Regions from separate parts of the Homo sapiens genome. Here all the other regions are linked to region 1. The links are contacts of gene promoters, found by promoter capture Hi-C in blood cells and fetal thymus (Javierre and others, 2016). All regions are on one chromosome and are shown on one strand. Each heading gives the region's core, a stretch centred on a gene start or on the middle of the fragment in contact. The rest is flanking DNA. Distances are from core to core; before and after follow the strand shown. Region 1 holds the start of DTWD2 (DTW motif tRNA-uridine aminocarboxypropyltransferase 2). Region 2 overlaps HSD17B4 (hydroxysteroid 17-beta dehydrogenase 4). Region 3 has its middle 25 kb from the start of HSD17B4. Region 4 has its middle 42 kb from the start of HSD17B4. Region 5 overlaps TNFAIP8 (TNF alpha induced protein 8). Region 6 overlaps TNFAIP8 (TNF alpha induced protein 8). Region 7 has its middle 62 kb from the start of TNFAIP8.

Region 1 (4,242 bases), core at 953-3,452:
CCCAAGGTGGTAACCTCACCTGCATGTTTCCTCAGGCGTCTGAAGGTCATTGTTCACAAACCTGGATATTGGGTGAATTTCTTGCTTCCTATAGAGGAAAATGGCTCTCCTTTCTCAACTCTGTGTCTTGCCTGGATGGAAGCTTTCTTTGATTTTGGTCAGCCTCTGAGACAATGGACTTGTAGGGGATTTTCTTCATAAGGAGCGGAGATGGAGCAGGAGACCACTTAGGTCTTTGGCAATATTCTATGCAAGAGATGACGGGGGCTTGAACCAGGGCAGAAGTAGTAGGTGAGATAAATGTTTGGATTTTGAATACTTTGAAGGGTAAAGCCAATAATCTGATATGGGGTGTTAAAAGGAAGCCCCAAGTAAGTAGGCTCACATCAACCTAAAAGGAAGGAGCAGAGGCAAAATTAATATAGAGAGTTTATTTGGGCCAACGTTGAGGACTGTAGCCTAGGTCGTACTTCCAGGTTGCTGTGGAGAGTGCTCTGGAGAACAAAATGGGCTGGAGTTTTTAAAGAAAAGAGAACGAATCAGCAGAGGGGGGCATTACAAAAGCTATGTCTCAGGAAGTGTCATTTATTTACAGAAATAACATTGGTTAGTGATTGGCTATACATATTGTTGAACTATAGGGTATACGGCGTTTTATGGCTACTCGGTGTCAGTCTAGGGCCTGCATAGCAAGTGCCTTCAAGAGGTAATTATTTAGCTCAAGGGAGAGTGAGACATGACTGCTCGCATTCCTTAGATAAAAAGTTTTTTTTTTTTTCCTTATCATCTGTCTTCTCACACCACACAATTGGGAGTCTCAAGGGACCTTAGAGGACTTGAGCACATTTCACCTCTTGAAATTAAAGATGAGCAGCTTCCTTTCGTTTAAAGATAAGTCACATGAGAATTTAATTTTGGCAGTTAAAGAATTGGTTCCCCAACCTAAATCTACAGACAAGATGAATTTTCTGATTCATCTCCTTTCCTACAGTTTCTGGATTTTGTTTATCCTCCGATTCCAAATGGCATAATTGCTAGTTCTTTCTCCCACTCTACGTCCATCACCAGGTGGGTGTTTCAGCCTTTTTCTATCCCTCACATAGGACGCTCCAAAGGAAAAGAGAGGTGCTGTTTCCGGGGGGAAAGAACGTAGGATAGTTGAAAACAGCACGGTATTTTATTCACAAACTTGATTTTAAGATGACTGAAAAATCTAATGTGAAATAAACATTTTAAGAAATACAGTATTTGCTCTATTACTGTGTTGTCTACTTTGCCTCACATTTAATCTATTACAACTATAGAGTTAAGACAACTGTGATTCCTAAGCTTAATTCACATGATTGATCAAAACCAAGCTTAATTCTGTTTTAATGTTGTGTATTGCTGGAAGTAACACAAAGCATTAATAAACAAAAGGAATTCGATACCCATTTTGGGTAAATAGTATTTCTGCCTTCATTCTAACATAGATTTCATTTTGGCTTTTAAAAAACAGCTGCTGTGCTATATACCGCCGTATCCAGTAGTTGTTAAATACCTGGGCAACGTTACCTTTCTAGGGCTTGTTTCCTCATACATAAAACCTATTGGTACCCCGGGCCAGCTCTCCTATTGCTTCCTGATCGGGGACGATCTAAAAATCTAATTTAACAAATATCTGGTGTCCAGTGTAAAATAGCATGCTTGATGTCTTATTAGCACAAGACATAGAAGAGCAGGAAATTCACATAAGGAAACGGACCAGCTGTGAGTAGTTCCCAGTGGATATAACCTCTCCTTTGTTGGCCTTTAAATAATAAGTGCATCAGCTGCCGCACCTGCGATGCATGCACGCGTGGAAATCCTGCAAATTCTTAAACTGCCATCCCAAGGCGGAAAATGCAGAATTCCATTTTATTTTAACTTTTAAAGGAGTTAAATTCGGGCTTGGTACTGGGGTCCTCTCGGGGAGGTTTCCCTTACCTCTCCCAATGACGCTACTTAACCTCACCAGCACTCCAACACTGCCCACACTTGCCTACCCAGTTCTAGGTGAACGGTCCCACTGGGCACGGACCAATGGGCTCGTTCCTTCCCAGCGGCAGGGTGGGACCTCCAGCCTGGGCTTCGGAGACCCGCCCCCCGTACGTGGCGTGCGGGCATTGCGCTACGCGGCGCGGGCCGGTTTCTACAGCGCGTGGCGCCCCCCGGCGGCAGCCGGGCTTCAATGCCACGGCCTGACCGGAGTGTCCGCCATGGAGTCGCAGAAAGAGGCACGAACACTCCAGGAGCCCGTTGCGCGGCCTTCTGGGGCCTCAAGCTCTCAGACGCCGAACGACAAGGAGCGGCGGGAGGGCGGCGCAGTGCCGGCGGCGGCTGCCCTGGGCGCAGAGGCGGACGACGACAGTGCGGACGGGCTGTGGGAGCTGCCGGTGGAGCCGGCCGAGCGGAGGCCTGAGTGCACCCGCTGCAGGTGACCGCGGGGCTGGGGGCGGGGACTGCAGCCGGCAGCGGCCTTCGGAGGAGGGTGCGGCGCCCCCTGCCGGGGAGTCGGCGGCTCGGGCAGCTCTGCGATTAGGGCGGCGGAGTTGGCGGGTGCACGTTGGAAATCTCGGAAATGCCAGGCACAGCTACCTAGTAAGAAGCCCTTTTTCCAGGTTCATGATTATCTAACCTTACTTCCTGCAATATGCTGAGCGTATCATGGGATGAGCAGACATCAGTTCTGTTTCCAAGAAACTTAAGCGTCCAATAGGGGAAGTAAGGGGTGATGACAGTAATACTTGTAAAATAGTTACACAGTCATATTTAAGTGGCATAGTTATATCACAGTTAAAAAGCATAAAGTGGATTGGAGGAGAGAGACAGTCTCCTTTACCTATCCTACCAGAACTCTAAATATAGGGCCTTTTCAGGTGTTCATTCTAGGTTCTCTTCAAACCCTACATACGTCCCACTGGTAATTTATAAAATCAGTTTTCATGGTAAATTATCATCTATATCCCAGTGTGTCTAGCTCAGACCTTTCTTCGGAACACCAGACCTGTGCATTAATTTATCAGGTGTTTATTGAGTGCTTTGGTAATCACTGACAATGCAGTGGAGTTCATGTTTTTGTAGAGTATTCTCTTACTGGATACGGATAATAAACCAGCAAACAAGCAATCAAATATGTAATTACAAACTGGGAAAAAAGCAGTGAAGGAAAGGAATGGGTTGCTACTGTAGAAAATAGCTCAATGGTGTCATGAACTATCTCTGAGATTTGAAAGATGAGAAGAATCCAGCCAGGGGAAAAGCATTCCAAGAAGGGGAACAGAAGGACTGAATATGGTTGAAGATCTTTACTGCTTGAATACTTGGAGTATCACACTTTGGACATTTTGACCTTTTCCTAGGGCTGGATTGTAAGACTTCAGAGGAAAGGATCTTGAATGTAGAATGTTTTTATATTTTCTAAATGTACTATGTATAGTTGACGCTCAGTAAACCTCTGAGGAGGATGGAAAATTTGTGATTAGAAGGGACTGTGAATTTGAACATAGGGGTTTGTGAATACAATTAATTTAAACAAGTCGTCTGAGGGGGTTGGGGAAGCATTTAAAAATGTTTGGAGGGGTCTCAATAGGATACTGGAGGAAAAGTGTTTCAAATATAAATCAAAGGCTAAATTACTGTGCTAGTTTTATTTAGTTTTTAGTCTGTTCAGAATTGTTAATTATAAATATATAGGTAAAAATCTGTTTAGCAGAGATTTATTTTATGATGCTTTTTTAAAAAAATGGCTTGCTGAATTTAATCTTTTTTTCAGTTACGTTTAGTTAATACCTTAGGATTACAATTTTCCCCAACATTTCTGCACTTTGCTTATTTCTGGTGAAATTTGCTACCTGTGAAAAGCTCTCCTCCCTCTTGCTATGCATTTTATTTGCTTTAATTAGGTAGACTATAATTCTACACTTTGCTTATTTCTTGTGAAATTTGCTACCTGTGAAAAGCTCTCCTCCCTCTTGCTATGCATTTTATTTGCTTTAACTAGGTAGAATATAATTCTAGAATTATGGAGAATATTTAGGTGTTGTCAATAAAATATAAATGAATTGATGGCTTTTTATATTTTATTTCATTATGCTATTAGAGTTCTACTAGTACCCTGGGTGAACTTCTTTACATTTATGGTTAAAATAGTTTTAAAAATGCATTCTTAGATTTGATTGATCATTGAGTCACAGTTATTTGGCTATTTACTTAAACTGTATT
Region 2 (4,242 bases), core at 1,161-3,660, 500 kb before region 1:
TGTATCTGCCACTCTAGATATCTATCAGAACTTCAAAAAGTGGCAATTTACTTTCAAGGTTTAAGTCAGGATATTATGCACAGCTCTTAGTATAGTTTATCAATCATGCATGCTAAATGTTCCTCACTAAAAATGTTCACAATATAGTAAAAGAAAACAGCAACATAACAAAACTTCATCTGCAGCATTATCCTAATTGTCTGTGTGTTTGGGTGTATAAAACGCCTATCTAGGCCAGGTGCGGTAGCTCACGCCTATAATCCCAGGACTTTGGGAGGCCAAGGCGGGCAGATTATTTGAGGTCAGGAGTTCCAGACCAGCCTGACCAACATGGTGAAACCCATCTCTACTAAAAATACAAAAATTAGCTGGGTTTGGTGGTGGGTGCCTGTAATCCCAGATACTCAGGAGGCTAAGGCAGGAGAATCACTTGAGTCCGGGAGGCGGAGGTTGCAGTGAATGAACCAAGATCACGCCACTGCACTTCAGCCTGGGCAACAGAGAAAGACTCTGCCTCAAAAAAAATAAAAATAAAAAATAAAACACATATCTAATAAAAGACTGGAAGGAAAAACATAAAAATATTCATACTAGTTCTCTCTGGATAGTGATAATGTAGGCAATTTTTATTTTATTTTTTATATGGTCTTATATATTCGAAATTTTCACAAACAGCACATATTATTTTTGTTCACAAAGTTAGTAATAAACATAACTGTAAAAGATAAATAGTTTTTAAAAATTCCTTAATGAGGTAAAAGTAGAGCAGGCAAAATTCTGAATTACAGATGGCTTGAGATTATTAAATTTTCCTCTTCTATAAAACAGAGTTGTAAAGTTCTTTCTACCTCTACTATGCCACAATTCACACCCAATGGCTGTGATTAGGAAAGTGGAGGTGCATATATCTGCTCAGAGATATGCAAACTGTTTTTTTTGTCTTAACTTACCCATCAGCTTTTCATTCAAATGAAATAAGCTAATATATCCCTCACTTTAAATTGAGCCAGGTTTACAACAGGTTCTGTATACAACAGGTTCATTATTACCACAGATAATTTAAAATGGGGGGGGGTCTAATATACAACAGTTTAGGCTAGAAAAAAGAGATCAAACTCAAATGAGTAATCAAAAATATATAAATTGGCTTTAAAAGGTCTAAAAGAACTTTCATCAAAGAGTGAACAATGGATCTCACTGCATGATGGGATTATGTGTGGATAATTATTTTTATAATAAACATTTAAAGCTCTGCAATAAAAAAAACAGAAAAGTTCATTTTTTATGTAAAAATAAATAATGTTATATTTATTGACCTATCACACAAGATTAAATTCCTGCTATACTGATAATTAAAATTGGTGGTTGAGTGCTATGTATTAGGCCTTATGCCAAGGGTTTAAAATATGACTTGTAGTTGTCACAAGAAAGCCCCAGAAAACTAAAGCTCACGAAGGTCAAATCTGCAATTCCCAGAATAAGAATTCAAAATCTGGCCTGGTTGACTCTAAACTCCAAGCTTCATCTTTCCACCTTATCATTCAGCTTCTTAAATAATGAAATTCCCCACATTTTGACCGAACAGATCAAACCAGCCACATTTTCATTTGGTAGGAATGTTACAAATGTAGAACTAAGTAAAAACAGAATTTATAAAGTTACTATTACTTTCCAAAAAATGGATATTAGTCAACACTTTTAATTATAACATAGACACAATATTTAAAAATATACAAGTGATGTCCACTGGTACAGATTTTTACAAATGTAAGCAACTGGAGAAAACTAATAAGAGAAAACAGGAAGGTGCAAATACCTCAAACAAGCCACCATTCTCCTCACAACTCTCGTGACAAAGCCAAAGGACAAGAGGTGCCACATACTCTGGCTTCAGGGCTTCCACAAGATCTGAAATAAAGAATATACACATATCTTATCAATCATTTTACTTTCTAAGAATTTCTTACTTATAAAATTATAGGTAATTCAGAGACCTTTAAAATAGGAACAAAATTAGTATGTATATAACTAGTCTAACATTTAAGTCTTTGCGAAGAACTTTTTGTAATCTCAACTGAGCCATTTCTAAAGGGCTCTCAAGCTTCTAAAATTGTAAGTATCAGACACACCTTTCCAAGATGAGTAACATATTAATACTGTTCAGAAGAAGAAAAGTTAGAACTGCCTAGACAAAGATTGGTGAGCAAAACTGTATTTAACATGAGAAATCTGGGTACCATTCATTCCCAAAATTATTCTACTCTCCCAGCTATTAACAACAATCTAGAAAATCACAAAACAGCCTAGACCATTACAGTGGCAAATAATGATTGAGAGTGCTGAATCCTAACCACTAGACCACCAGGGTAGGCAGATAATGATTGAAATAGACCTTGAAGACATCACTGGTGAGTGCACAAAGTATAAGAACTAATTTCCCACTGCATATGTTACCTTTTGAACTTTTTAAAAATTAATATATAATAGTTGTACATATTTTGAAGGTGCATGTGATATTTTGATACCTTATACAATGTGTAACGACCAAATCAGGGTAACTGGTATATCCATCAACTCAAACATTTATCTTGTCTTTGTGTTGAGAACATTATAAATCTTCTCTTCTAGCTATTTTGAAATACACAATAAATTATAGTTATCTATAATTTCTCTATTGTACTATCAAATACTAGAATTTATTCCTTCTATCTAAGCTTACTTTCGTAGCCCTTAGCCAACTTCTCTTTACCACTGCACCTTTTCTGTGAGTACCTTGGTGAAGCAGAAAGGTACTACATGAAGAACATGAAGACTTTGATTTTGGTACTGAACCTGCTATGCAAGCAACTTAGGAACCTGAGCCCATCATTCAACTTCCCTGGGCCTGTATCTTCATCAGTAAGCTAGTAATTTAAATGCTTCTGCTTCCTATTCCACCAAGTTGTTCCAAGGCTCAAATGAGATACAATTTGTGTCTTACAAATCATACAATTTTATCTAAAAGATCAAATAAATGCAAAAATTGTGAAATGACAAAATACAATTTTGTATTAATGTGTTAAAGTAAAAAAGATGGTGTATATAGTCCTGTAAATTAAAAAGTAGTTGCAAAAACTCTTCACTTTATAGCCTCTAAAAGCTCTCAAAAGTACACAAGCATTCCAATGGCACCCTGTCTTCCATTTTTCATTATATGCACGAGGAAAAAACAAAAGGAAGACTCCAACCATCTCAAATTGTACATTAAAACAAATTATTAACTTAAATATCCATTCATCTCAATACATAACATTCCTCTAATTTCCCATACATCAATTGACAAAACTAAATGTTAAAGGATATTTATGTACAGGGATTTGGATATTTGAGTTGGCTAACTTCAAACTGAATGAGAAATAAACATATCTATAAAATGCAACAGAGTATCTATTACCTTACGTGAGAAAAAAGAAAAGAACATAAGCCACATACAAAAAAATACGTCTGCCTTGCAGTTTATTTTATATATTATCACTAATAATATAAGCAAATATTCTTGCTTTCCAGTTCATTCTCAAACTCCTAGGTTAGCCAGCATCTATTAAACTCAATGTTATAAATAAAAAACCAACCTTAAGAGAGTAAATAAAAGATCAGAGAAGTCCCATAGCTATTAAGATATAAAGTTATATGAAATCAAAAATAGAAAGGTTTACTTACTCAACCCAGTGTTTCTTCCACAATACTAGATGTCAGGATATCTAGCATTACAGTGAGCCAAGTACTCTGAGGAATACTTCTGCTTCCAGAAATGAGATTCTTTTAAAGCATTACTGAGATAAAGAAGGTATCCTCCAACCAGAAAAAAAAAAAAAAAAAATAGAAAAGAGTCCCTAGTGCTACATGCTACAGGGAAGGCAGGGTTGCCCTGAGAATGATACAAATAACAATACTGATACCTAGGTACTCAGAGATAGGCCAGCATCAAGATGGGGTCCTAAACCTAAACTGTTCTACGCTGAACTTCAACTTTTAAGGAAGACTGAAGCAGAACAAAATTGGCTATGCTTCCTGGTAATCAGCAGTAGCAAAGACAGATCCTCTCTGAAGAAAACATTGCCAATTTAGAACACAGAACAAATACAGAAAAAGATCAGGTAAAGAGCTGGTAATTAGAAATCACCAAGCACACAATGAAGGGAAGCCACTATGAGTAAAAGTTAAAAGAAACAGCAGATTTGAACTACAATGGAATAGAAATGT
Region 3 (4,242 bases), core at 1,215-3,714, 440 kb before region 1:
AAAGGCCACAGCCTTAGTCATGGCCCTCAGATAAACAAACCTTGGTGGTTCAAAGAGGACAGAAAATGGAGTAGACCAATCACCTGGTGGGGCTTATTATCAGTGTGGTTTGCAAGGACACTTTTAAAAAGATTGTCCAATGAGAAACAAGCTGCCCCCTCATCCATGTTCACTATGCCGAGGCAATCACTGGAAGGTGCACTGCCCCAGAGGACAAAGGTTCTCTGGGCCAGAAGCCCCCAACCAGATGATCCAACAACAGAATTGAGGGTGCCTGGGGCAAGTGCCAGCTCATGTCATCACCCTCACTGAGCCCCAGGTACATTTAACCACTGGGGGGTCAGGAAATTGACTTCCTCCTGGACACTGGTGCAGCCTTCTCAGTGTTAATCTCCTGTCCCAGACAGCTGTCCTCAAGGTCCGTTACCATCCGAGGAATCCTGGGACAGCCTGTAACCAGGTATTTCTCCCACCTCCTCAGTTGTAACTGGGAGACTGCTCTTTTCACATGCCTTTCTTGTTATGCCTGAAAGTCCCATACCCTTATTGGGGAAGGATATATTAGCCAAAGCTGGAGCTATTATCTACATGAATATGAGGAACAAGTTACCCATTTATTGTCCCCTGCTTGAGGAGGGAATCAACCCTGAAGACTGGGCATTGGAAGAAACAAACTCTAGCTCTAGCCTTAAGCCTTCCCACAGGATGAAACTTTTCTTTATACATCACAGAGAGAGCAGGAATAGCTCTTAGTGTCCTTACTCAGACTCGTGGGACAACCCCACAACCAGTGGCATACCTAAGTAAGGAACTTGATATGGTAGCAAAAGGCTGGCCTCACTGTTTACAGGTAGTTGTGATGGTGGCCATCTTAGTGTCAGAGGCTATCAAAATAATACAAGGAAAGGATCTCACTGTCTGGACTACTCATGATGTAAATGGCATACTGGGTGCCAAAGGAAGTTTATGGCTATCAGACAACTGCCTCCTTAGATACCAGGTGCTACTCCTTGAGGGACCAGTGCTTCAAATATGCTTGTGTGTGACCCTCAACCCTGCCACTTTTCTCCCAGAGGATGGGGAACCAATCGAGCATGACTGCCAACTAATTATAGTCCAGACTTATGCCACCCAAGAAGTCCCCTTAGTTATTCCTGACCTTAACCTATACAGCAATGAAAGTTCATTTGTGGAGAATGGGATACGAAGGACAGGTTACGCCATAGTAACAGTACTTGAAAGTAAGCCTCTTCCCCCAGGGACCAGAGCCCAGTTAGCAGAACTAGTGGCACTTACCCAAGCCTTAGAACTGGGAAAGGGAAGAAGAATAAATGTGTATACAGATAGCAAGTATGCTTATCTAATCCTACATGCCCATGCTGCAATATGGAAAGAAAGGGAGTTCCTAACCTCTGGGGGAACCCCCATTAAATATCACAAGGAAACCATGGAGTTATTGCACGCAGTGCAAAAACCCAAGGAGGTGGCAGTCTTACACCACCAAAGCCATCAGAAGGGAAAGGAGAGGAGAGAACAGCAGCATAAATAGCTGGCAGAGGCAGCAGAAAGGAAAGAGAGAAAGAGACAGAGAAAGAGAGACAGAGAGGAAGAAACAGACAGACAAAGAGAAGGAGACAGAGAGAGGAAGAGACAGAGACAAAGAAGGAGTCAAAGAGAGAGAGGAAGAGACAGAGAGACAGAAAGTCAAAGAAGGAAAGAGAGGAAGAGACAAAGAGGGAGTCAGAGAGAAAGAGAGAGACAGACAAAGAAGTCAAAGAGAGAAAGAGAGAGATAGAAGTAGTAAAGAAAAAACAGTGTACCCTATTCCTTTAAAAGCCAGGGTAAATTTAAAACCTATAATTGATAACTGAAGGTCTTCTCTCTAACCCTGTAACACTCCAATAGCACCTTGTTGTCAGTGTAAACAAGGGCATAGCCCGAAAGCACTGAGGCCACTGAAAAACCATAGCCTTCCTATCAAAAATCCTTAACCCAGCAGGTTTCCTAACAGGGGATGTAAATCTTAATTAATTACCATACAAAGGTCCGACCAGATCTAGGAGGAAACTCCCTTCAGGACAGCATGATAGATGGTTCCTCCCAGGCGATTAAGGGAAAAAGACACAATGGGTAAGTGATAAGGAAACTCTTGCAGAAGCAGAGTTAGGAAAATTGCCTAATAACTGGTCTGCTCAAATGTGTGAGTTGTTTGCACTCAGCCAAATCTTAAAGTACTTACAGAAACAGGAAGGAGCGATCTATACCAATTCTAAGTTAATATGAACTGAACGAGGTTTTGTAATAGCAAAGAAGAATTAAAATCCCAAACTTAGAAGGTTTTCAACTAAAGTTTGCCAATAGTTAACAGTGTAACATGTACTATCCTAATACCACACACTCTCAAAGGATTTCTCAGTTTGCAAGAAATAACAAAATCTATCCTTACTCTACAATCCCAAATAGACTCTTTGGCAGCAGTGACTCTCCAAAATCGCTGAGGCCTAGACCTCCTCACTCCTGAGAAAGGAGGACTCTGCACCTTCTTAGGGGAAGAGTGTTGTTTTTACACTAACCAGTCAAGGATAGTATGAGATGCTGCCCGGCGTTTAAGGGAAAAGGCTTCTGAAATCATTCATATTCCTGCAAAGGACATGACCTCATTCTTTTTTATGACTGCATAGTGTATATGTAAACAGGTGACATGTTTGACAGGAAAGGTTTGGCAGGGTTAGTGGTGTTCTTTAAGGCCATGCTGGCCTCTGCTTCTCCCTCAGCTACTCCCCAGCTACTGAGAAAGTATGTGGCAGATGAAACTTGTGCTTTATTCACATATTTGAGGGGTCCCAGGAGTCCTCAACCCATCTGCATTTGACTCCAACTCAAATCTATCTGGCCTCTGAATTATATTTTCATCAGTATGTGGGCTTAAGTAGTCCTAGAATATGCTGTGCTTTCTCTCTTTCTATACGATTTTTAACAACTTCTATGTGAGTCTAAAATTATTCCAAATAAAACATTATAAAAATAAAAATTTTAAATGAACAAAAATATATCTCTTCCATTCCATCCAGGAAGCAAAGGAGATAAGAATAGGATCTTCAGCTCACTTACGGCATAAATCAACAATAAGGCCATTGTCATTCTGCTACAGTCAACCTGTGATGCTTTAAGATCACCTGCAAGGCAATGTCTTCTCAAAGTCAAAATGTATCTAGTGTTTCTATCCTCTTCACTGCCCTATCTCTTCAGGTAGAGCCAGGAAAAAGAAAAATATGTTGATTCCCTGAAGAACCCAGGCAGACCACACCCCTATTATCCACCCTCCTAATCATCTTCATCCTTTTCACAGTAAGAATTCTACTGATCTTTGCTGGTTGTTAGAACTCCTCCCATGTTTGTTCTCCTTGCTCCCACCTTATGGATAGCTCTATTCTGAAGATTCACTCTTCTAAGGGAGACACTAGGCTTTTTGGCTTAGTCCGAACAGTGTATGGAAAGCTGGGAGAACATGAAGAGATATTACGATGAAACCGCATTCTTTTTCTTTTTTGCTGCCTAGTCTCTAAATTACCTTCCCATTGTTGGATAATACCTTACTTGTTTCCTACTTCAGAGTCTGAAAATACTGGGTACTCTTCTTCCCAGCCTCCACTGCAGCCAGGCATAGCACATGACCTAAGTTCTGCAAATCATGTACTTCCTCCCAAGGCACTGAATTGAGAAATAATGATTGATGGGGTGAATGACAAACTATACAGAATGCATTCTGGTGATGGATAGTTGGAGGAGAAATGGCATCAGTTCTAGCAGGAGTGAGCAGGATTCAGTGGTGGTAGTCTCAGGGGTGCAAGTGGCGTCATCTAATATCCAGCTGTGAGGATAACAGTATCTTCATCATACCAACTCTGTGGCATGATTTAGACATAGCTCCTGACTGCAGAGCCTCGGAATCTAGCTTTCTTCCCCCCACCTAGAGATTCTGGTGGCCACCTTGTGTCCTTTTAATAATCCTTCCGTACTTAAATCAGACAGAGTCAGTTTTTCTTGCTTATGAATAGGAACCCTAAGCAAGACAGTTATTTCCAAAGTATTATTCTTGTTACATAGGTCGTGGCTGAAGCCATAGTTCTTGTAATGATTTTAAACAGATTCTGTGCCTATCACTTCCCCCATCCCTTGCAGGGTCTCAGCGGCCTACCAATAGCAAGATTACATTGTTCTATTAACAGGTTTCCTCTGGGT
Region 4 (4,242 bases), core at 1,081-3,580, 420 kb before region 1:
TACCAAGAGGGAAAGATTGTGGGGACAATTGTAGAGGCTGCCCACCCTACCAGGAAAGACAAATGTTTACAGTACCTTGACCACGCCCAAGCAGCCAGGCCAGTTAAAGAATGCCCTGTACAGAGTCCATACCTGTGAAAAAAGTATAGTATTTTTGTTTTAATGTCGCATAATTTACCAAAGTACTGAAAACTTTAAGCCACACTGCAGATGTACTTGGCCCTATTGAGAATAATCCTAAAGCAATGCATAGCACTTTAAAAATTGCTGCCAGCTCATTTTCCTTGAAAAACAGAATCTATTTCTAGTACATTTTCTTGGAGAGCTGCCCATCCTATTCAAGTTTTCAAAAAAGGGACCTTTCAATTAAATTGTCATTTGTTCCACTCCTGCCTGTGCTGCAGAGGAGAGCATGTTACAGAGAATACAATATGCAATAAGTAAAATAATTCCAAAAATATTACAAACATACATTACATCGCTGAGATGTATGTATGAATTCAGATCCTACGTTTTAATTCTTGTAGGGAAATTTTATATTATTTACCCTCAGCTGAAGTAAAAGAGTAAAATTCTTTTGCTTTCTTTCCTTCCCAAGTCGTATAATCCCTGTACTAGTCCAATATTTGGTGAAAAAGGTGTTTGTGAAGCTATATATTGGCAGGAACAATGGATCTACGTGCTAATTTACGACTTTTTACGACTGAATTCTTTAACTCTCTGAGAAGTGTGTCCAGATGCACATAGACCCTCTTTGCTTTGTGTCCTTAGATTATTACATCCAAACTAATTATATTCTCACGTTAAACAACAGAGTGATTGATGCAAACATGGTCTGTGATAGAAAACACTGGCACCATATGGCCACAAGAGGGAGTAAAGAGCCACAGAAACATTAGCGTCTTCAAGGCTAGGCTCTACCATTCCCGAGGAAATAGAGAACTTTTGTTGTTTCTATTTCCCCCACTCTCTTTTTCCTTCTAATAATTCAGAGACTTTCTTCTGACCAAAGGCAGAGCTAGTATCTACAGATCTCGCTGTTACGATGAGGCAAAGTTAGCCCGGAGCAGCTTCTTCTCCCGCTGCTGTCCTGGCTGACTTCCCCAAGGAACACTTTCCAATACCAAACTACCAGCAGTGGGCTCCTGTCTCCGTGCTGAGGGCACCCTCCGGTGCCTGTCTCTGCTCTCCGATTTGCCACCAGAGCCCAAATAGCTGGTTTATGGGAAGACTTGTTATGTTGAACGCTTCAATCGCTTCTTAAATTGATTTATCATGGCACTGAAGCAATTAGATGATATACAGACCAATGAATCCCTTGTAAAGGCTACAGTAAGCACTCAGTAAGAGGAGAAAAATCAGATTGAGAGCCTGGGGAAACATACTTTCCTAGGAATGACATAAATGGAAATCCCTCAATTACACTCCCCATCATTCCTGAGTCCTTGGCACCGGGCGGGGGGTAGGGGGTGGGGGGACGTTCTAAAACTCAGCCCCATAAATGGTGGCATGTTATATACCAAATTACCATACGGTTGTTTGGGGATTTGTTTTTTGTTGTTGCTATTAGTTCAGCTTGAACAAAGGAGTGATGAATAGAGCTGAGTAAGATATTTAGTCCCTCAGCAGAATTACTCAGAAGCTGCAGGCAGTATGTCAGGCAAAAAATACAGGGAGGAGTCAACACAATGGGAGATAAGTTATGACTGAGACAATAGAAATACAATTCCTTGAATCCTGGCTGTCGCTTATTCATGCACATGGATTCATCAGAACAGGTTGCCAAACTACAAGGGAAAAAACTGAAAATAAATTGCCAAATGTTTGCCACAGAGTTTATTTTCCTATTACATTTCTTTGATAAACTCTTCTCCAAAGGATTCAAAGAGTTGTGCTGAATGGAAATTTCTTTTAAACACTGCCAGAGATGAAGTGAAGTCTCACCTTGATGGTGGGAGAAAAGATGGGAGAAGGAAAAAACAATAACCAAGATGCCTTAAAGCAGAGAGGACTGGAGAAAGAGCAATGGCTAAATTCTTCAGTGTGCAAACATGCAGCTGGCTACAGGAAGGAGGGTGCAGCCAAGGCTCTTCACTACAGAGATCTTGAAAGCTTGGAGGAGCATATTGCAATTTTGGAGACTCATCACATTCCGCATCTTGGAATCCTCCAGCAGAGTTCAGATCCAGACTCCTCAAACCCGCCAGATGCCCCTCCCTAACACCCTTCTGCTCTTAACACTGGTCCCTCCTACACAATGCTTATTTATTATGGAGAAATCTGTGCCTCCAGCTCACCATAAACTTGTATTCCTGCCATGGTATATGTTCCTTCCCAGCTTGAGACCTGCTTGAATCAATATCATTTTACACCTGGGCCCCAAAGCTCAGGGACTTCTGAGAAGCAGGCCAGCCTTGTACTCTGGCTGAGAAGTCTCTGTGTCAAGAAGACTCATCTCAGAAGTCTCAGCAAAAGAGGAGGAAGTCCCGGTGGCCTGTCATTATCCATCTCTGATCCAATCACTGCAGTCAAGGGAATGTGAAGCTTTGATGGTCAAACATGGTCACATGCCACCCTTAGAGCTGGAAATCAGCTCCACTGGAACCCCCAGCCTTGAGAGTAGAAGCGTAGACTCCCTGAGAAGGTTGGAGGCTATTTTAAGTAGAGTAAGTGGATGCTGGGCTGTCAGGAAGCAAGACAAATCCACCTCAATCACTTTTCAGCCCTTCCCTCTCTGTAGTCTAGCACAGCCCAGGTGACTATGGAACCTTGTGTATTTGAATAGAGAGCAAATGGAGCTCTTGGTGTTGTGAAGTGTGGTGGCCCTGACTCTCAGCAATCATGTGCTGGTTGACCTGTGATAAGGATCATTAGTATTCATTTGCTCAGTACTGTTTCAGTCTCTGCCCATATCTTTCATTAATTTCTATAGTCACCAAGTCACATACACACAAATCTCAAGGAGACAAGCCAAGACAATGACAACATTTGATGACAACAACACAGATCTCAGATAATAACTGTTAAGGTGATAAGGGAAACTTCAGGAATCCCTGGGGTGATAGAAGATGTTTATTAGCACTGTCTTTAATTCATCGTAGTACAAGGCATGTTATCAATACAAAATTTACATGAAGTAAGTCATTTGTTTCAGGTGTTTACCTGAAACATATTGAGTTCCCTCTTTGAGCATTGCAATAAAGTAATTACCTTTTGCTCCCATCTGGTTCTTATATTAACTACATATAATCAAATCAATTATTAAGTGGTTCATCAGAAAGAAGCAATTGTCCTTCCTAATGAGACATCGTCCCCAAACTTGCAGAGCAACAAGCAGAAATAATGAAAATATAACAATTCTTCCCAGGAACAACATCCCTTTTCCTCAAAGTGATGCAGTTCTGTCCTGTCCTCTGCAGCTTGCCCCTGGAAAATCCCACTGTCAGCCTTGTGAGTGATTCTGGGAGTACTGACTCCTGGGAACTAGATCTCCTGATGAGCTCAGACTTTCAGTGAACTACTGTGAGCACAGGGGCCACGAGCAGGGGCTTTGGACTCAAATCCTGCTAGACTTGAGTGTGCACAGGGAAGGGGACGTCAGTGTGCACAGTGGCTACAAGAACAGGCACTGGATTCAAACCAGCTGCCACCATTTACCAGCAGGTGTCCTTCAACAAGTCCTTTCTTTCTGACCCAAGTTTTCTCTTCTGTAAAATGATGGTAAGAGTTCTCACCTTCTGGAGTTGTGACAGAGACAAGACAGTGCACAAGAGTGTTTAGCATACTGCCAGGCACATGGTACTAAATGAGGGTTAGTCTCAATTAGGCTTTTTGATTTGTGTTTTGTTGGGTTTTTTTTTTTCATTTGTGACCAAGAGGCAAAACTTGGCCTGACTCCTTCCTTCCATCAGGAGAAGGTCTGTCACTGACAACTTAACTGAGCAAGGGAAACACCATTGGATAACCTGGCCCCTCACTGAGACTAAGAAACAACCAGTATTTAGGTTTCCCTTTGCCTACCACCTTAGAAGAGCTAGAAAACAAATCTGTGAATCTAAGGAATGTTTCAAAAATCCAGAATCCTCTTTCTAGCGAGTTGGTGCTCCCAGTTTACATTTGACTCTAATTCTGACTCAAAGATGTGATATGATCCATCATCACTCAATCCAAAAAGGAAAAATTTAGAGCATTATTAATAGCGATAGCTTCTATTTATTGAGGATGTACTTGACATCTTGTTCT
Region 5 (4,242 bases), core at 636-3,135, 400 kb before region 1:
AGTTCGTGGTATATAGTAGAGGCAGCTGCAAAATGGTTCCTTATGACCTGAACATCATTTATAAATATACAGTGCCATACATCCACTCAAAGAATGTCTTGATTGAATAAGAAAGGGTCCCCTCACAAATGTCGAAATTTAAACTTCTGAAACATGAACTGAAACTGCAGAAGAACTAAAATATATTTTGAAAAAGAGAAGGAAAGTGAAAATGTGTGAGAAACAGCCAACTTTATGGAGAAGTTTCCATCATTTAATGTTTTATGTTTTTATCATTTAAGCAGAAATCTGTTTCTATTCCTATTCTTCAATGATTTGCAAAAGAGTATAAAGATTAATTCACACTAAAGAATTTATGTCAAAAGAAATGGCATCCATGTAGCTAACAGTATCACATTAAAACCAGGGACCATATTTCATCTTAGAACTCCTGATATAGACCTCAAAAAAAATCAATAAACTTGATTTATATAGGGATACCCAACCATTTTCAGCTACTCAGCAGATAACCAGGATTTCAGTAATATATTACATATAAAGTTGAAATGTTATTGTGTTTTTTTTTAATGTTTTAGAACATGGCACAGTCTACAAATATCTTACCTGGGATTTACTACAAGTCTATCAGTTGGACATACTTTATGTTGTGAAATATTGAAACCAGAGGGAGAGGTATTCATAAGATTTCTCCTTTATCCAAGACTGGACTTTCATGTTTACACCTCTTCTCAGCTACTTTTCTGATTAAATCTCAATATCCCATTTAACTTCAAACATGGAAAACAAAAACTCTATGATACAGCACTTCAACTTCCTGCAAGAGAGTGTGTAACAGGCAAATCTACTGCCAACTAAGCAAGATCATTCCCCATTTACTGGTAATCAAGTATGAATCAAGATAGAGAAGTTGATCTCTGAGGCTTTCATATTTATCCTAGAGGAACTTCAAACCCCGCTCCAGAAACACAGCAGCTGTGTCACACTTTCCTTTTATTCTTTGGGTTATTCCAGTGAAGTCGTCTTTTTAAATGAGGTTGAAGCTCCTTGTTCCCCTCCACCATCTGAAGCTCTTTCTCCCCCTCCACCAAGAAGACATGCATGAGTAGATTTATTTTCCAGCATTAGAGAAAGTTTTTTTGAAGCCAACTGGGGCTTGTGGCTGAGAGTCGCTGGCCAGGGATGTGTGGTCTGTGCTCATGAAGTTTGTTTCTTTTTCTTGCAAATTAACTGCTGTTAGCCATTCCTGTGCAGGCTCATTTGTCAGTTCCACATGCTCTACCAGATCCCTTAAAAGTCTGGTGTATCTCAGAGCTAGTCCTGGATCAAGTTTTTCTCCTTCAGTCTATCCTCACCCCTGTGTGATCTCATCCACTGCCACAGCTTCAGATACCACCCATGTGCCAATGACTCCCATAGCCATAACTCAGCCCTGACCTCTTTTCTGGACTCATTTTGTAAGTGCATTCAAGATTTTTCTTTCCTTGACTATTTTGCAGGCATCTCAAATTTACCATATGCAAAACTGATCTTTGATTCTCTCCTGCCTCCCTACTAAGTGCTCCTCTTTCACTCTTTATGATCTCAATTAATAGCATCCCTTCCAACCTTTTGCTCAATCAAATCAGAGACCTGGGGATCATCCACCATACCATTCTCTCCCTCACCCAGTCCATTATTAAGTTCTTTCCATTCCACCTTCCTCCTGCATTTCTCTGAATTCTATCCATTTCCCTCCATCTCCACGGACAGCAGCCTAGTCCAAACCCCTTTCTATCTCTTTTCACATATCAGCCAGAGTTTCAAGAAATGAAATTTGCAAATGGGGCCGGGCGCAGTGGCTCACACCTGTAATCCCAGCACTTTAGGAGGATAAGGTGGGAGGATCACTTGAGCCCAGGACTTTGAGACCAGCCTGGGCAACATAGCAAGACCCTGTCTCTACAAAAAAAACTCAAAAAAAAAAAAAAATAGCTGGGCATGTAGTCCTATTTGCTCAGGGGGCTGAGGTGGGAGGACTGCCCGAGCCCAGGAGTTCAAGGCTACAGAGCTGCAGTGAGCTATAATCATGCCACTGTACTCCAGCCTGGGCGACACAGCAAGGCCCTGTCTCAGAAAAGAAAAGAAAAGAAAAGAAAAAAAAAGATGCTTCATGTAAGTTCTTTGCTAACTATCACACCTCCTTGTTCCTTAAATCCTCTTCATTTGCCTACATTTTTATTGTCTGCCTCTCCCTACTAGGATTTAAACTCTGAGAGCAAAGATTCTGTGTATCATGTTCACTGTGTCAACTTGCAGGCCTAGAGAGTGGCTGGTCCAGAAGCAGCAATCAATTTCCCCTATCTCATCCACAATATACTCAAATACTTTTCTATGAAAACATGTTGGCCTGTAAAACGAGAGTTGTAAATACATTAGTGGGTGTTTTTGTTTGTTGTATTAAAAGGTAGAAAAACAGGTATTTGTTTTACCTCACTAAACATGTGGTTTTTCTTCCCTCTAAGTGCGCTCCAGAGTATGATTTCTCTTACTGTCATCAACCAGTTCTTTTAAAGAGGAGAGATTTGTTGTGCATAATGGGAAAACATCCAAGGACAATAATGCAAATATTTAGAGTAAAAGCAAGGTGTAGTTCTGACTTGAACTGTAGCAGGAGATTAAACACAGGCCCACCTCTACTTCTGGCTGGATCTATGTTTAGACATGTGCCAGAGGGATACCTAAGGCATGTCCTGGGAAGCAACTAAGATGTAAACAGGAGATGTTCCCCAAGGAGAAAGTGCTGAAAATATTCATTCAGTTTTTTGCCTCTTAAGATCAATTCACTTGTGTTTGGAAACAGACATGTAAATTGTTCATTAATGAAGAATAATGCTGTATTTAAAAAAAAATACAAAGCATTACCACCACATTAAAACTGTTTAAGATTATTTTCTAGAAATAGGGTGTAAATGTTATTTTACATTACTTATCTTACCTCCCTCCCTCTCTGTCTCTGTATCTCCTCCCTTGGCCATTTCAGCAACATTTGCTGTAAGGCAAAGTGATATTTAGGGAATTCTGGCTTTAGCATCAAAATTATAAAGTTAGAGATAAATATGGTTAAAATATACTGACCCAAATATTCAAGAAAAAATATGCTCAGAAGGAAAAAAAAGTCCTTTGTTATTAATACTTAGTTTTATGAAAATTAACAAAAATGCCCCATAACATAACTACTCCCACTGAGAATTTTCTAATAAAGTACTCAAATCATTTTCTTTACAGTCTTACCAGTAAATACATAATTTTTTCCCCTCAAATCTATTATACTTGGGACTCTTTAACAGTGATGACAACAGATGTACATACATTGCAAATTCTTGCCTAGTTAAAACTCGATCCAGGTTTCCAATATTAGGAAGGATAGAAAAGATAATAATTTGGAAAGCATGTCTGGCTGTTGTCTGTTAATAAAAGTTCTTTAAATAAATATATAAAACCTTAGCTCTCTTGTATCTAAATAATTCTAAATCTAATGGGACTTAGTAAAAAGTCAGCTTTGGTGATAAGAAAGTGGCCAGAACAAACAACGAACCCTGTCATAAGAAGTCAGCAGGCGAAGAGTTGACCTCCCTACATGGAGATTTGGCAGTGCTCCAGAGAAAAGCAATGAACGCTCGGAGTAGCTAGTGATGTGTCAGTGTCACCAGCTTTCATACTCAAAATCCCAAAGTCAGAAATTCAACAGCATAGAGAAGAAACAACAGAGGGAAAGAGAGAGGGAGAAGGAAGGAAGGAAGGAAAGAGAGGGAGGGAGGGAGGGAGGGAGACCCAGTAGAAGCAGCACAGATATGAACTCTAAAGGGGGCTGCCCTGGAAGGGTCAGAAGCAACGACCATGGCAGCAAGCTGGAGGCAATCTTATCAACTAGAGAGAGAAGACAAGTGCCAGGCACCTTAATCCCAAAATTGGCCTTATGCCACACAGATGGAGGCTGTCACACAGAACATAGTCTTGGGAGAATCAATACATCTGAAGTCCTTAACCTGATACGGAATGCACATTTTGGGGTATATGCACATCCCCCCAAGTGGTTAAGAACCAGTGACAGGCACCATTACAGTGGCAAGCTAAGTCATTCACTCTGTTTCTTATACTCCAGAAAAATACATGCTAACCTTAAAAGGCAACATAGTAAAGAAGACATGTCAGAGAAAATGGTGACTTTGAAATACTCCTCCCCCGCAAAACAAAACAAAACAA
Region 6 (4,242 bases), core at 539-3,038, 380 kb before region 1:
GGCTGCAGACTGATGTTGGGTCATAGTAACCACTATTCCTTTGTCTCTGGGCCCAAGCCCAGGAGGGGCCAGTGTTTTGCACCCTTCTGCTCTTAGAGGCAAGATTTTCTTTCCAGGCTTAATTCAGACCATTTTGACTAATAGCTTGCCTTTATTACCCATTATTTTATAGAACTTCCAGGCAGGAAGATAAAGGGTCTTTAATTTACTGTCAAAGTCTGATAAAGTCTATTTATCTTTTAACTTCTCTGTGTAAACTCAACATGGGAAAAGCTGGGATTTTAGTTGTTAAATGCATGAATTAGGGTTTGAAAGCCTCCTTTACTCAACTTAAAGAGTTTTATGTGTGGATTCATGCATTGTTTCTCTGTTGCTCAATCAAGTAATATCTTTCTCTTCTCCAATCTTTCTGCTGAAATTTGATTTTTATTTTAAATTAGAGTTAACTAGTAATAAGCTTCTGGACTGATTTGTGTTCCAGTGGCTAGAACCCAGGAAGAACTCCAAAGATGTTAAATTCCAACAAATTAAAACAGAGAGCTGCTTCTGTGGCAAAATAAACAAAAATCCATTTAAAAAACAATAAAAAAAAGAAAAGCAGGCATTTCAAACACAAGGGTTACCTAAAACATTCCCTTTTCCATTGCTGCCACAAGATGTGACAGAAGTTTTCAGACAATAAAGTGTGATTGGACCAAATTTGAAAGACAATTCATTTCAGTTTCCACCACTTTTCAAAAGAGTAAGAAGTGACCCCATTAGAGCCCTCCATCGGCCTAGACAAACCTGGTTAAGTCCCTCCCATGGGTCTGTCTGTTCTGACTTTAGGCGTGAGAACAGTGATCCAAAACACAGACTAGGAGATGGAATATCACTCACACTGGCTCGAAGGGAGCCAGCAAGAAAAAGGTCCTACCAAGCCTTCCTAAAGGTCACCCCATATGCACAATACATTATCAATGTCTGGTGTGGTTTTGACAGACTGTGGTACCATGGATGATACAACTACCTATTGAGTAAAACACAGTCCTATGCCTAAAAACCAAACAATGAGGCCAGAGGCACAAAAAATATCAATGTATGGATGATTTATGAATCTCATGAAAAACTGCCTAAGTTTTAATTCTGCAAAATATTTTACACTCTGAATCATATGCCTGTCCTCACACCTCACTGGTTATCAGGCATTTTCTGTTTGCCTACAATGTGCCCATCATCATAAAAACTAGAAGACGCTTACCAGCCACTTTCAGGTCCAAGAGTCTTGAGCACTACAAAGCTAAAGAAATTACAGTTTCAGACCAGGGATTCATTTAACTCAATGAAAGTTTGGGCCAGGTGCGGTGGCTCATGCCTGTAATCCCAGCACTTTGGGAGGCCCAGGCAGGCGGATCACTTGAGGTCATGAGTTCGAGACCAGCCTGGCCAACATGGTGAAATCCCATCTCTAATAAAAATACAAAAATTAGCTGGGCATGGTCATGGGTGCCCATAATCCCACCTACTTGGGAGGCTGAGGGAGGAGAATCACTTGAACCTGGGAGGCAGAGGTTGCAGTGAACCAAGATTGCACCACTGTACTCCAGCCTGGGTAACACAGCAAGATTCCCTCTCAAAAAAAAAAAAAAAAGAAAAGAAAAGAAAAGAAAGTTTGGCTTATGTTAACAGTTCCCTTTTTTTCCCTAAAAGCATCCTATTTGAACAGGTATAGGGTATTTAGGGTAGAGGATTCCAGTATTTTCAAAAGGCCGGAGTTTTATCAAGCTCAATGTACAGCATAGCAGGGGCTACTCAGGCCTGCTCCCATCATGAAAGAAGAGTCAAGGAGCTCCAGAGCACAAGCACCTCAGGGTCACAGCCATGTCCTGCCCCAGAACAAGAACTTAACCTCATTCTTTATAAACATGGTTTATTGCTAAGTTTGGCAAATGAAATTTAGTTGGGTCCCGAAAAATGTCCCAAAGAATCATTATTGACTTTACCTTACCCCAAACTAAAAACACTTGCAAGCATTTTGTATTTCAAATCATCTTTCCCTGGCACAGTTTCTTATTTGAAAAACAAATAGACGCTCAGAGATTGACACTTGCATGGAGTTAAGTCTTCAGAAAAAGAAAGTTTTTTGTTGTTGTAGACACTCTCATCTAATAAATGCTGTGACTAATTTAGTATTTCCAGGAAATGTGGTGTCAAGGCTTCTTAAACCCCAACACAAACACACACACGCACACACACACACACACACACACACACACGCTGCTTAGAATAGGTAAGTGAAAGAAAGAAGAGAAAGTGTGGGTTTTTTTTTTTAACAGACAGGAGGGAAAATTATATTATTTCGGGAGATAGCAAAAAAAGTATGAACTTACTTTTTAAGTCATAAAGCAATAACTGTAGGCAACAAGATGCCAAAAAACCTGTTAGTATCTGTCAAAATAGTATGATTCTTCCCAAGTTGCTAAGTGACTACCTGACAAATGAAATTAAGAACTACAAGACTGATGGGAAGCAACTTTTGGGGAAAAAAATGCTATTTCAAGTGGACCACAGATTCAAGAAGAGAAGTCATGTAGTGTACCTGGCACACACTTGCTACTTTTAATTTAAGCTGCTTTACAGGCAGGGAAACATTATTTCACCATTACCTACCTCAGTGGGGAGATGACTTAAAAGGAACTAAACATGAAAGAGATAACAAGGAGAGAATACTGACTCTAGCTGATTCTCATGACTATTCAAATATCCTCTTATTTCATTTTTAAAAACTGAACAAAACACCAGCATCATGAAATAAATTTCAATCTATATAATAGAATATGTCAGGTAAAGTGATGGCCTGAAAAAAAATGAGAAAGCAAAGGGATAGGCTTTGAACTTTAACACTCATCAGACATGTTGAAATGAGTGACAAAGACCTATTCTGTCCAGAAATCCCCGCTTTATTTTTAAGCCTGGAAACTGGTTTGTCATATCTATACTGAATACTTCCTGTCCAAGGGCATGCTAATGGCAACAAACTGCCAAGTTTAGTAGCTGCCTACATGTAGTCAATTGAGTCATTCATGGAATAAAAAACAACATCAAACATTTTTTTAAAAATCTGGCTAACTGAAGCTTTAAAAGATATACAATTAAAACATGTTTAACTAGTTCACAAGATAGGGATAGATGGTGCCATTTAAAAAAATAGAAAGGAAACAACAGACAATATTACTCTGAGACACTTTTGCTGGTAGGTTCTATACTATTCTAGTACCACTACCAAATATAACAGTTCTCTCCCTCCCATCCTCTACGACAAAATAGTCCAGTTGACATTCCACGTTTCATTTAGAAAATTGCCTAAGACCATAGAATGACTCAAATAACTAAACAACAGCAACAAAAAAATCAAATTATTCCTTTCTTTGCTTAATTTGGCCGAATTGCATTTTTAAAGGAAGGGTTATCTGAGAATTTAAAGAACTAGAAATGCAGAGGACTAAAACAAATCAGGAATGTAAACTTTATTAATGGGTCAATGGACCATGATGTTACATTAAGAACTCATCTTTGGGAAAGAGGAAAACAATTAAGGATTGCAAGAATGACCCTTTCCCCAGCAACCCTGAGGGCTGGGTGGGCTCAGCTAGGCTGCCTCTCCTAGCAGCAATTATAATTTACCCGATTAACCCTTACACATGTTGAAACTAGCCAGCTTGTTTCACTGCTGAGACCTACAATCAACATCTCCTCTCCCTCATGTCCCTCCCCATTTGCACAGAGAGGCAACCCCAAAGTATGCTGGAATAGGTAGGTGGCAAGGACAGGAATGTCAAGTAATCACCCCTATACTTCTAGGGTCATCAGCCTAATCACCAAGTCAGAGCTATGGCCAAGTAAGCCAAATAATTTAAACCAGTTCTACCCCTAAAAATCCTCTGCCTGAAATCCTTCAGGAGGCCTGCTTACCATCAGACTTGTTAATGAGGGAAACCCCCCGAAGTTAGGTACAGCTTCACTGGTTGGAAGTGATGGCTTTAACCCTCCAACAAACCACTCACCACTGGCCCTCCAGAAATGGGCATCACGATGTCACAGGCAGCTTTGAAATGATGCCCACAGGCAGACACCACTGCTTTTCTACTTCATCATTTGCCATTTTCAAGCTTTTTTGAGGAAATCATTTTTATAACCCAGTAAGAAAGTTGCTAGAAATCCAAGCCAACATAACACTGCCCTGGCTTCCGACTGGCCCCAATT
Region 7 (4,242 bases), core at 1,041-3,540, 300 kb before region 1:
AGCAATGACTTTCTTCACAGAATTGGAAAAAACTACTTTAAAGTTCATATGGAACCAAAAAAGAGCCCGCATAGCCAAGTCAATCCTAAGCCAAAAGAACAAAGCTGGAGACATCACGCTACCTGACTTCAAACTATACTACAAGGCTACAGTAACCAAAACAGCATGGTACTGGTACCAAAACAGAGATATAGATCAACAGAACAGAACAGAGCCCTCAGAAATAACGCCGCATATCTACAACTATCTGATCTTTGACAAACCTGAGATAAACAAGCAATGGGGAAAGGATTCCCTATTTAATAAATGGTGCTGGGAAAACTGGCTAGCCATATGTAGAAAGCTGAAACTGGATCCCTTCCTTACACCTTATACAAAAATTAATTCAAGATGGATTAAACGTTAGACCTATAGGTCTAACGTTAGACTAAACGTTAGACCTATAGGTCTAACGTTAGACTAAACGTTAGACCTATAGGTCTAACGTTAGACTAAACGTTAGACCTAAAACCATAAAATCCCTAGAAGAAAACCTAGGCATTACCATTGAGGACATAGGCACGGGCAAGGACTTCATGTCTAAAACACCAAAAGCAATGGCAACAAAATTCAAAATTGACAAATGGGATCTAATTAAAGTAAAGAGCTTCTGCACAGCAAAAGAAACTACCATTAGAGTGAACAGGCAACCTACAGAATGGGAGAAAATTTTCGCAACCTACTCATCTGACAAAGGGCTAATATCCAGAATCTACAATGAACTCAAACAAATTTACAAGAGAAAAACAATCAACCCCATCAAAAAGTGGGCAAAGGACATGAACAGACACTTCTCAAAAGAAGACATTTATGCAGCCAAAAGACACATGAAAAAATGCTCACCATCACTGGCCATCAGAGAAACGCAAATCAAAACCACAATGAGATACCATCTCACACCAGTTAGAATGGCAATCATTAAAAAGTCAGGAAACAACAGGTGCTGGAGAGGATGTGGAGAGGATGTGGAGTCCCACTGTTGGTGGGACTGTAAACTAGTTCTACCATTGTGGAAGTCAGTGTGGAGATGCCTCAGATCTAGATCTAGAAATACCATTTGACCCAGCCATCCATTACTGGGTATATACCCAAAGGACTATAAATCATGCTGCTATAAAGACACATGCACACGTATGTTTATTGCGGCACTATTCAGAATAGCAAAGACTTGGAACCAACCCAAATGTCCAACAATGATAGACTGGATTAAGAAAATGTGGCACATATACACCAGGGAATACTATGCAGCCATAAAAAATGATGAGTTCATGTTCTTTGTAGGGACATGGATGAAATTGGAAATCATCATTCTCAGTAAACTATGGCAAGGACAAAAAACCAAACACCGCATGTTCTCACTCATAGGTGGGAATTGAACAATGAGAACACATGGACACGGGAAGGGGAACATCACACTCTGGGGACTGTTGTGGGTTGGGGGGAGGGGGGAGGGATAGCATTAGGAGATATACCTAATGCTAAATGACGAGTTAATGGGTGCAGCGCACCAGCATGGCACATGTATACATATGTAACTAACCTGCACACTGTGCACATGTACCCTAAAACTTAAAGTATAATAAAATTTAAAAAAAAGAAAAAAAAGAAGGTATTGGGAAGAGCTAACACGTTAAAAGTGAATTGATATACTATGGATTTGGTTCCAATGAAGGTAAAATTATGTCCCAAGAGTGCCTAGAACATCCACCACTGTAAAGCGCTGCAAGTGTTATCTGACATCCATACAATAACATGCATGTGACTGCCCTTTTAAAAACTTTTTATTATTCAAATTTTCAAGCATTCATGAAAGTAGAAAGAGTATAATAAACTCTCATCTGTAACCCACCTTCAACAATAACCAGTATTTTGCCAATCTTGTTTCATTTGTACCTCTCTACCCCTTGACTCTTCTTTTGTTACCATTTTTCCCCATAGCCTTATTGAGATATAATTTATCATTGTAAGTGTACAATTAAATGATTTTTAGTAAATGTATACAGTTGCGTAACCATTACCACAATCCAATTTTTAGAACATTTCCTCATCCGGAATAAATAGTGACAATATAGTACACATACACAATGGAATACTGTTCAGCCTTAAAAAAGAAGAAATCCTGTCATTTATGACAACATGGATGAACCTGGAGAACATTATATTAAGTGAAATAAGCCAGGCACAGAAAGACAAACACCACATGATCTCACTCGTATGTGTAGTAAAAAAGCTGAACTCAGAAATGAGTAAAATGGAGGTGACTAGAGGTTGAAGGTTGGGGGATGGGGAGATGTTGCTCAAAAGACATAAAATTTCAATTAGACAGGAGGAACAAGTTCAAAAGGATCTACTGTACATCACAGTAGCAGCAGTTAATAACAATCTATTGTACATTTGAAAACTACTAGAAGAGTAGATTTTTCAGTATTGGCACCACATATGAAAAAAAAGGGATGTGACGTAATGCATGTGTTAAATGGCTTGATTTAGCCATTCCACAACATGCATATATATCAAAAATCATGTTGTACACACATGTATATACAGTTTTTAGTTGTCAATTAAAGTAAAATTTAAAAACAAAATTAAAAAGGACTCCTGCCATTGGTGACAACACAGATGAACCTGGAATAATGCTAAGTGAAATAAAAGTCAGACAGATAAAGATAAATACTATTTTTTTAAAAAAAAGAAGAAGAACATTTCATCATCCCACAGCAGCCATTTTTAGTTAATTCCCATTCTTACTTCAGCCTCAGGCAGCCACTAATCACTTGCTGTTTACAGATTCGCCTTTTCCAGGCATTTCACATGAACAGAACCACACAGTATGTAGCCTTTTGCATCTGGTTTATCTTACCTGGCACAATGTTTTTGAGATTCACCCATGCTGTAGCAGGTACAGTACTTTGTTCTTTTTTATTGCTAAATAGTATTTCATTGTGTGTGTGTGTATATATATATATATATATATATATATATATATATATATATGCTACATTGATTATTCATTCACTAATTGGTGGATATTTGAGCTGTTTCCAGTTTTTGGCTCTTATGTATAATCTTCTATTAACACTTGCTTATAAGTATTTGTATGGACATGTTTTCATTTTTTGGGGTAGACATCTGGAAGTAGACTTGCTGGGTTTTGTACTGTCTTTTACCCAACAGAATAACAAAATACCATATGATATAATGTTTTATTTAATAAATAAGGAAATGAAAAGTCCAAAGACATTAACTAATTTCCTCATACTCACAGTTCATTGGTGACAGAGAAAGAATTCAAACCCAGTACGGCCCATTCTTCTTTTTTTCTTCTTTTCTAATCAGTTTCATTCCTGCTCCTCCCAGAAACACTCCTCCTGGAGCCCTCCTCCTTCAGCTCTATTCTAGATGGGCTCTTCTCCTTGGGCCAGAGCTGCAATAGGGAACTTCCCTTCTCAAGTCCTTCTGGGGCTCCCCTTTACCTCCTGCAGACTTTCCCACCCCTACTCCCATCCTAAAGCCTCTGCTTCACCTATGCCTCTGGGGAACTGGGGAACTCTCATTTCTGAGCCTTCCTGGCATTCTGTGAGCAAATCAATCGCTTCCGGTCCTCTCCCGGTGAGCCCTGCAGGCATTTTATTCTTGACTTCACTTCTCCTCTCTGCAAATGCATTTGCCATCACTTCATCTGCTTTCTATCTTTAGGTCCTGTATGGGTCAGGGTTACAGATGTCTCCAAGGTTTATAAGGATACAGTCTGCATTCCTGATTTTCATTCTTTTAGTTTGAGGGAGATTTTCAAGAGACAAAAGCAAAAATGTCTTTGCTAGTTTGAAAGAAGAAATCTCCAACTTTCTTGAAACTATCTCTTGAGTGAAATACTTACCCGGGCAACGAAAATACAAGGACAATGAATGACTATTCCATTCAAACTAAGGGGCATAAGAGGGAAAAAACTCTGCCCCAAATCCTAAAAAGGAATTTTATCCCATAAACATATGCATGAAAGAGGCTGCCTTTCACTATTCAAAGATGAAAGCAGCCCTTCCTGCACTCCGTGGCTGGTACTGCCTCATTAGTTTAACTTACGCAAAATAAGAACACTCTTTGAAGCTAAAAATAATCCATGAGTTTTTAAAAATAAAATTATTATTCCAAATTTCCTAAAAATGTTATGGCAAATGCCAAGCACGCAGAACTGATTCTGAACAC

The links. Contacts are between HindIII fragments. The CHiCAGO score rates a contact against its expected background, and 5 or more counts as called.
Region 2: a fragment that was not itself captured here is called in contact with the fragment with the promoter of DTWD2 in region 1 in 11 of 17 cell types (activated CD4 T cells, total B cells, naive B cells and 8 more); the score reaches 16.8 in activated CD4 T cells.
Region 3: a fragment that was not itself captured here is called in contact with the fragment with the promoter of DTWD2 in region 1 in 14 of 17 cell types (activated CD4 T cells, naive CD8 T cells, total CD4 T cells and 11 more); the score reaches 20.7 in activated CD4 T cells.
Region 4: a fragment that was not itself captured here is called in contact with the fragment with the promoter of DTWD2 in region 1 in 16 of 17 cell types (fetal thymus, naive CD4 T cells, naive CD8 T cells and 13 more); the score reaches 42.5 in fetal thymus.
Region 5: a fragment that was not itself captured here is called in contact with the fragment with the promoter of DTWD2 in region 1 in 6 of 17 cell types (naive CD8 T cells, neutrophils, total CD4 T cells and 3 more); the score reaches 8.7 in naive CD8 T cells.
Region 6: a contact is called between a fragment that was not itself captured here and the fragment with the promoter of DTWD2 in region 1, in 14 of 17 cell types (fetal thymus, activated CD4 T cells, naive CD8 T cells and 11 more). The highest score is 17.6, in fetal thymus.
Region 7: a fragment that was not itself captured here is called in contact with the fragment with the promoter of DTWD2 in region 1 in 1 of 17 cell types (fetal thymus); the score reaches 5.6 in fetal thymus.

Annotation. Positions count from the first base shown.
Region 1 is chr5:118,986,507-118,990,748 of GRCh38, reverse strand. It overlaps DTWD2 (DTW motif tRNA-uridine aminocarboxypropyltransferase 2), which reads left to right and starts at 2,202. Exons shown (of 6, transcript NM_173666.4): 1 at 2,202-2,455. The coding sequence starts at 2,238. RefSeq lists a silencer at 2,289-2,618. The HindIII fragment of the contact is 4,492 bases long and covers 1,361-4,242 here.
Region 2 is chr5:119,486,858-119,491,099 of GRCh38, reverse strand. It overlaps HSD17B4 (hydroxysteroid 17-beta dehydrogenase 4), which reads right to left. Exons shown (of 24, transcript NM_000414.4): 9 at 1,817-1,908. Among named protein-coding and RNA genes, the nearest start is that of HSD17B4, 36 kb to the right of the region's middle. The HindIII fragment of the contact is 613 bases long and covers 2,104-2,716 here.
Region 3 is chr5:119,425,715-119,429,956 of GRCh38, reverse strand. No RefSeq gene overlaps it. Among named protein-coding and RNA genes, the nearest start is that of HSD17B4, 25 kb to the left of the region's middle. The HindIII fragment of the contact is 5,143 bases long and covers 1-4,242 here.
Region 4 is chr5:119,408,862-119,413,103 of GRCh38, reverse strand. No RefSeq gene overlaps it. Among named protein-coding and RNA genes, the nearest start is that of HSD17B4, 42 kb to the left of the region's middle. RefSeq lists a silencer at 756-1,050 and enhancers at 1,007-1,136, 2,523-2,792. The HindIII fragment of the contact is 432 bases long and covers 2,115-2,546 here.
Region 5 is chr5:119,386,525-119,390,766 of GRCh38, reverse strand. All of the region lies in intron 1 of TNFAIP8 (TNF alpha induced protein 8), which reads right to left. Among named protein-coding and RNA genes, the nearest start is that of TNFAIP8, 33 kb to the right of the region's middle. The HindIII fragment of the contact is 9,397 bases long and covers 1-4,242 here.
Region 6 is chr5:119,366,444-119,370,685 of GRCh38, reverse strand. All of the region lies in intron 1 of TNFAIP8 (TNF alpha induced protein 8), which reads right to left. Among named protein-coding and RNA genes, the nearest start is that of TNFAIP8, 13 kb to the right of the region's middle. RefSeq lists enhancers at 2,926-3,025, 4,137-4,196. The HindIII fragment of the contact is 2,657 bases long and covers 460-3,116 here.
Region 7 is chr5:119,291,437-119,295,678 of GRCh38, reverse strand. It overlaps a transcript of TNFAIP8 not described here. Among named protein-coding and RNA genes, the nearest start is that of TNFAIP8, 62 kb to the left of the region's middle. The HindIII fragment of the contact is 5,662 bases long and covers 1-4,242 here.